2 separate regions of the Homo sapiens genome follow, and region 1 is linked to region 2. Evidence: promoter capture Hi-C in human tissues and cell types (Jung and others, 2019). All regions are on one chromosome and are shown on one strand. The core of a region is centred on a gene start or on the middle of the fragment in contact, and the rest is flanking DNA. Distances in the headings are between cores, read along the strand shown.

Region 1 (3,896 bases), core at 1,129-3,628, 1.2 Mb after region 2:
AGACATGTCAGAGGGATGCAGGCTGACTTGTCGCTGCAACAATCCCAGAGTCTCTCAAGTAGGAAGTGAGGCTTGACTCAAATCTGGAACCAAGGGTAAAAGGGAATGGCAGAGAAGATAACATTTTTTTTTTCTATTTCTCATCTTCACTTCAAGTGGTGAAATACTACTAACCAATCTAATATTAGGGTACCTAAAGGAGTTAATTGGTTCAAAATTTTTTAAAACATTAAATAAGCAGAAAATTCAAAGGAATGATGCATTGAGAAAGGATAAGGTGAAGTCTTGAGAGTAATTTCAAAACTGTTACTAACTTAATGGTTTGCCAAGATTGTTTCAGCCCATCTCCTGTACTCAGTATCCTTTAGCAGTGATCTGAAAACCATATTCTGTCTGTTTACTCATTCATTTAAACAAACACAATTTATTTAAACTTCTTTTTTAAACTCTGATTAAAATACAAAATAGCATCATTATAACATAACTGCTTTCAACAGTATTAATATGTTTTATTTTGAGTTGTAAGATATCTGAAGAATATTAAGGGGAGGGTTATTTTTAAAATTGGTTACATTCATTACTTGATTTTCTATGACCTATTTCTTTTTAATTAAAAAATAATTTTTTTAAACTCTCTCCTAGGCTACATGATTCCCTGAAAGATAAGAACAATGTTATGTTGGGGATATTGGTCTCTGGGCCAACCTGGTATCAGCACCAACCTGCAGGGAATTGTGGCTGAGCCCCAGGTGTGTGGGTTCATATCTGACAGAAGTGTCAAGGAAGTGGCCTGTGGGGGAAACCACTCTGTGTTCCTGCTGGAAGATGGGGAAGTTTACACATGTGGTTTGAACACCAAGGGGCAACTGGGCCATGAGAGGGAAGGAAACAAGCCAGGTAAGTGCACCTTATCTGTCTTGATTATTGGTGAGAATGGAAAGTTGGAGGACACAATGGCAGAGGGCCCAGATGGAGCTTTCTCCACCAAGTGTTCGGTTTTCAGGGAGGCTCTTTTGAACGGTGCAGGGATTCCTTCCTGTTTGGAACCCTTGTGTCTAATTCAAGCCTTTTGATGGAAAAGCAGACTTTTCTTTTCTTTTCTTTTTTTTTTTTTTTTGAGATATGGTCTCGCTCCGTCGCCCAGGCTTGAGTGCAGTGGTGAGATCTTGGCTCACTGCAACCTCCACCTCCCAGGTTCAGGCAATTTTCATGCCTCAGCCACCTGACTAGCTGGGATTACAGACATGCGCCACCACAAGACTTTTTATTTTTTATCTTCTTAGAGAACATATGTAATATCAGTTACCTGGGGAGGGGAGGTGACTAGTTAGTTCAGAGTTAGAATAAAATAGATTTTGCCCGTTGTATTAGTCGGTTTTCACACTGCTGATAAGACATACCCAAGACTGGGCAGTTTAGAAAAGAAAGAGGTTTATTGGGTTTACAGTTCCACGTGGCTGGGGAGGCCTCACAATCATGGCAGAAGGTGAAAGGCATGTTTCACATGGCGGCAGACAAGAGAAGAGAGCTTGTGCAGGGAGACTCCCATTTTTAAAACCATCAGATCTCTTAAGACTCATTCACTATTATGAGAACAGCACAGGAAAGACCTGCCCCCATAATTCATTTACCTCCCACTGGATCCCTCCCATAACATGTGGGAATTCAAGATGAGATTTGGGTGGGGACACAGCCAAATCATATCATCCAGTAATTTAATGCTGAGAAATATGACAGTTTTTTGAATAGGTAATCCTCACACAATCACTATCAGAAACTTTACTTCCTGATTACCTATATTCATTCCTTTGTTTCTGCAACATGCTCTTACATGTTTTGTGCTAAGCAATGCGATTGCTGTTATGAGTGGAGGGATGAATGAGATATGGTGATGATGTGGCTGCAGTGATCCTTATGGCAAATGCTGTCATGCAAGTCTGTGTTATGTAAGTTGAAGAGTACACCAGAGGTGTAGGGGAGGGGAGATTGGTTCTGCCTTTGGGTGTTGAGTAGCACTTTGGTGTGTGTGTGTGTGTGTGTGTGTATGCATGTGCACTTGGGTGTATGAATGAATGTGGCAGCATCACTAAGCTTATTGCACACCTGATACCCAGTGATGTGAATATAAAGGTGCAATACTTGTTCAAGGCATGTTGAATAGTGTGGTGAGACTGGGAAGAGAGGGTGATGGAAGAGGATAAGCTGGAAAGGTAGGGGGACTAATTCGTTTCCTTAAATTTCAGTGCTTTTAATTGATTTATAACAGGTGCTACACATATTTTAAGCTTGTTGATTTTATTTTTTTCCACCTATTTTTACATTTTTTTTTGAGACAGGATCTGGCTCTGTCGCCCAGGCTGGAGTGCAGTGGTGCCATCTTGAGTCACCGCAACCTCCGCCTCCCAGGCTGCAGATATCCTCTCAGTCTCAGTCTCCTGAGTAGCTACAACTACAGGCATGTGCCAATACACCTGCTAATTTTTTAATTTTTGTTTTAGTAGAGACGGAGTTTTGCCATGTTGTCCAGGCTGGTCTCAAACTCTTGAGCTCAAGCAATCTGCCTGCCTTGGCCTCCCAAAGTGCTGGCATTACAGGTGCGAACCACTGTTCCTGGCCCTATTTTTACTTTTAAAGAATCTAAGTTTGACTTTCAGTATATGTGTAGCATGGATTTATAAGGTCCTCTTAGTAGTGAGGATGTGTAAATGAATCTTCTTTTGGTGAGAAATTTTAAGGTAGGGTCTTAAATTGTGACCACATATTTGTCACACTAGCATAGGTGTTTGCCCCTTTTTTTGTTACCTGCCATTCTTTTCATTCAATACAGATCATTCCAGACACTGAAGCTTCATTAAAGAATAACCTTACAGTTTTTTCTAGATGATTTTATCATTTTATTTGGCATCAATACGAATTAAATTTTTTCTGTGACACTGTCTCCCTCTTCTCTCACGTTTATTATTCCCTTCCATAGTAAGTGACCATGTTCCGTAGTTTCCCTGCCCAAAATGTCAGTGTAAATTTATAATCGTTAATTTTTATGTTGCCCATTGGAAAGAGGGCTGCAGGGCTTAGGCACAATTGTGAAGGATGTGAAGTGTGGTTGATGAGCTTCCAATTCCTCATTCTTTGCCACCAGGTTCCTTCAGGAAGCCCGCTGTGAGAAATGCACCAGGCCTACTCATCTGGGGGCAGTACCCCATGTTCTAGTCAGGGGTTTCTTAACCTGAGGACCCTGAAATCTTGGGATTTCAAGGAAGGGGTTTGTAGAGTCATCTACAGATGAACACCATTCCATGTACAGTGCACTCAATACTATAGGTTTTCAAATTATTCTGTTGTTTACTAAAATGAAAATTCAGTTGAAAATGCCACTAATTCAGAAATTAGTAAATCCTATTTATTATGTATTTTACCAATTAATAGAATACAAAGGTATCATATACAACTACCATGGAGGTGGCAGGAAGAAGATTGACTTTTTCAAATGGTCTTCATACTGGAACAGATTAAAAACCAAGTCTTCTTTCTTTTCCTCCTGTTAAAACTCACTTGTGTCTCACATTAAGCTCCTAAATGTGCCCTCTGTTTCCCTAGGCCAGAGCCAGTGTCTAACAAGTAATGCATTTGGAGGGTCATGGCCCAACAGTCTACATTCAGCCAGGATTTAGGAACTTCATTCCAATGATCTTTGAAGGACTTGTACAACTCTAGCCAGCCTTTGAAGGGAGTATTTTGGGAACTGGGAAGAGATCTTTCTAGTCCTCCCATGGAGACAGCAAGGTTATGGTGAAGTTTGGAATCAGATAAAACTAATGGAGGCATTACATCTCTAATCTAAAATGAGGATTATAGTCTAGGTGTGGTGGCACACACCTGTAATCCCATCACTTTGG
Region 2 (3,624 bases), core at 572-3,071:
TACACGCCACCACGCTCAACTAATTTTTTGTATTTTTGGTAGAAATGGGGTTTCACCATGTTAGCCAGGCTGGTCTTGAACTCCTGACCTCAGGTCATCTGCCCGCCTCGGCCTCCAAAAGTGCTGGGATTACAAGTGTGAGCCACCGCATCCAGCCTGCACTTGTAATTACTTAATGTCCATTTTCCCTACTAGACTGAGGTCATGGAACCTTATTTTCTGTTTGTCACCCTATCCCTAATGTCTAAGCAGCAGACAGTCATTATTTGTTGATTGCTGTCTTCATCAGCCACTCACTGGGTTAACCCTCATTTAACTTCACATCCTTTGAATTATTGTTTACAGCATTGCATGTCAACTAGTGTGTAATGGATAATGTTTCAGGCCATCAGGTATCTTCTAGAAACCCCTTTGTTCATCTACCAAAGGTCAAATAAAAGGTTGGATTCTAGGTCCTCTTCTCCTCCCTAAGCCACACCTACACTTGTCCTAGGTAAAAAATTACACTGAAAGTTTTTTTCCCTTTTATTGTTTTTACTAAAAGATGCTTTCCCGCCACTCCTTCAGTATCACAGGTCAAACGTGGTAAAAAATGTTTTTTAAAAAAATTTGAGACAGGGTCTCACTCTGTCACCCAGGCTGGAGTGCAGTGGGGCGTTTACAGCTCACTGCAGTCTCCACCTCCCAGGCTCAAGCAACCCCCCACCTCAGCCTCCCGGAAAAGATGCTTTTTAAAATTACTCTTGGCAATAACTATGGCAATGTAGCATTGGTTTCTGTTGAGTATAATCTTTTTGTTTGTTTTTTGAGACGGAGTCTAGCTCTGTCGCCCAGGCTGAAGTGCAGTGGCGCCATCTTGGCTCACTGCAACCTCCGCCCCGCGGGGTTCCCGCCATTCTCCTGCCTCAGCCTCCCCAATAGCTGGGACTACAGACGCCCGCCACCACGCCCGGCTAATTTTTTTTTGGTATTTTTAGTAGAGACGGGGTTTCAGTGTGTTAGGATGGTCTCGATCTCCTGACCTCGCGATCCGCCTGCCTTGGACTCCCAAAGTGCTGGGATTACAGGCGTGAGCCAACGGCGAGTATAATCTTTCAAACCACTTTTCTCATTAACAGTAAGTAGGACTTTCTCTTAATAGGTACAAGCTTCTTACTCTTTTAATATATAGCTAAAACGATTGTTTTTTCCCTATTTTTAAAATAGAGGGATCAATGAAATCAGGTTCAGGAAAAAATTATGAGTTATCCTTAGGGCAAAAATGGGGATCAATTTACAAATGGGGCAGTAACTGGGACTATTATAACCTCTAGGTCTGTTTATCATGTGATCATACAACATATTAATTCATGCCCTCCCATCTGCAAAATGGCAATACTAATTTTTTTTTCCTCCCTGCTTTGCAGAGATGAGGTAAAGGGTGGTTGCCAGCAAAATGCAGACACATCCACAAATTAAAGGTACCAGAAAGTAAAACATAGTAAACACTGTTACCTTATTTATATCCCAGAGAACCAGCTTGCTTTTAAGTTTAGCAAATTCATAGGCAGTCAGTCTCCCAATTCCATGCCCAGCTCCTGTAATCAGCACGATTTCGCCGGTGACTGATTTTCTCCTCTTAGGAATAAAAAGCTTCACGAAGGACTCTAGGGAGCAGACGATCAGTAACGGGAGAAGCAGGAGGATGTCCAGAAGAAATTTCATCCCTTTTGTGGCTGCGAGCGTTTGGTGTGTTTTTTTTTTTTTTTACCACTCTAAACTGCTTTTAGAGGGTAGCTCGATCTAACACCAGAAAGAGTAGGGGCGAGAGCAAGGAGGAACTCCCGTATCAAAGAAAAACAACTCCGAAACCGTTCCTTCCGCTGGGCTGGGCTTTGTTGGTCTTTCGCAATTGGCTCGGGCTGCAGTGCTTGCTAGCTCAGAGATCTGGGAGGGACGAAGTCCAGACCGGAGCAAAGCTTCCTAGTTCTGCTTTGCGCAGCCCCCACGCGGTGTGTGGCCGCGATTGTCTTTTACACCACTTTCTCCCGGTGTCGTGAGCCGGCCTTGGAGGGTTAGTTGCTCACTTGTTTTCCTAAATTGGATAAGTTCCAAGGATAACCGACAGTGTCCACAGGCCAGATGCTTCTTTCATAGTTGAAGGTTGCTTATCACTAGATAGGGGGTGCCGCTGGGCGCGGCGGCTCTCGCCTGTGATCCTGGCACTTTGAGAAGCCCTGGCGGGAGGATCGCTTGACCCCAGGAGTTCGAGATCAGCCTGAACAACATAGGGAGACCCCCGGTCTCTTTTTTTTTTTTTTTAATTAGCCAGGCGTAGTGGCGTGTGCCTGTAGTTCCAGCTACTCGAGAGACTGAGGCACGGGAATTGCTTGAGTCCAGGAGGTGGAGGCTACAGTGAGTGAAGATCGCGCCACTGCACTCCAGCCTGGACGAAAAGGCCAGACTTTGTCCTAAAAAACAAAAACTAGATAGAGGATGCAAATGTAGATTCCTATCTTAAAGGATCCTGAAAAGACCAATCGTTCTGCTTCCAGCTGAGAAATTGCGCTACATCACATTTTAGTTTGAACTAAGCACGATTTCTGGAAGACAGGGGAAATTTTGTCTGTTCAAGGACAGCTTCAATCAAGCGCCAGAAAAAATTGTTATCGTATTAAAGGGATTGTTTCCACAAGAAAGAAGAGTATATTTGAATAATCATTTTTCACTTGACCTATTAGAGTTTGAAAATAAAAAATATATGTTGTACTTTAGGAATTTTATCTTTATTCAAGTGAATAAATAGCAAATCATTTAGCCTAAAGATTACCTATGTAACATTTGGTTTTGTAGCCTATATAAATGGGTATTCAGTATATGCTAACTAGTGACTTGAAAAAATTCTAGAGATTGGTTACTGGAAGAAAAGACCTAACTAGGGCTTGTGTCCAGTAAGAGCTTAATAATGGTATTGCATGCATTTTTTTCCAACTCATTTTTGACAGACATTGGATTTGGGTTTTGCGCAAGACACTCCAGTGCTTGGGAAGGGACTTTGTTGTGTGACAATAGTCAACTTTCATATTTAAGAGCCAGAAAGATCACACAAAAAAATCAAAGTTCACAAATAGTTCAAACTCGATTGTCCCTCTTACTTAAGCAGCCATACGTTGTTATAGGGGATGAAGGGATAGTGGCAGCCTCACAAAAGTGAACCCCATTATAGAATTCTTTGAATTCAGAATATCTACAACTTTTTTTTGGATAGCCTCCAAATCCAAATTTACAAAACACTTGTATAGAAAGTTTACAAAGTGTTCTTCCACATATATTATTTCATTTGATTTTCAAAAGCCTCCTAGGAAATAGAGAAAAGTAGAGTCAGGATATATTTATACCTATACTGTAAATGAATAAATCTGTTAGATCAACTTTAAAATCTACACAGTGAGTAAAAGTGTAACTGGGGCTACACATATGTTCAGTGTTTGTCAATTTTTTGGTCCAACACCTACAGGAATAAATTACATCTGACATGGTGATCTACTATAAGAAGTGTTTCAACTATGTTGAGTTTCATATATTGAGGCTCTAGCTATGCTATTTTTTTTTTTTTTAAAGGAGTCTCCCTCTGTCTCCAGGCTG

Evidence for each region. Contacts are between HindIII fragments. The study calls those that stand out against the background at their distance.
Region 1: a contact is called between a fragment that was not itself captured here and the fragment with the promoter of HSD17B11 in region 2, in 1 of the 25 tissues and cell types used here (aorta).

Annotation. Positions count from the first base shown.
Region 1 is chr4:88,605,153-88,609,048 of GRCh38, forward strand. HERC3 (HECT and RLD domain containing E3 ubiquitin protein ligase 3) reads left to right here. Exons shown (of 26, transcript NM_014606.3): 3 at 643-897. The coding sequence starts at 672. Among named protein-coding and RNA genes, the nearest start is that of HERC3, 15 kb to the left of the region's middle. The HindIII fragment of the contact is 4,074 bases long and covers 342-3,896 here.
Region 2 is chr4:87,389,367-87,392,990 of GRCh38, forward strand. It overlaps HSD17B11 (hydroxysteroid 17-beta dehydrogenase 11), which reads right to left and starts at 1,822. Exons shown (of 7, transcript NM_016245.5): 1 at 1,495-1,822. The coding sequence starts at 1,704. RefSeq lists enhancers at 2,034-2,103, 2,117-2,689. The HindIII fragment of the contact is 3,840 bases long and covers 1,796-3,624 here.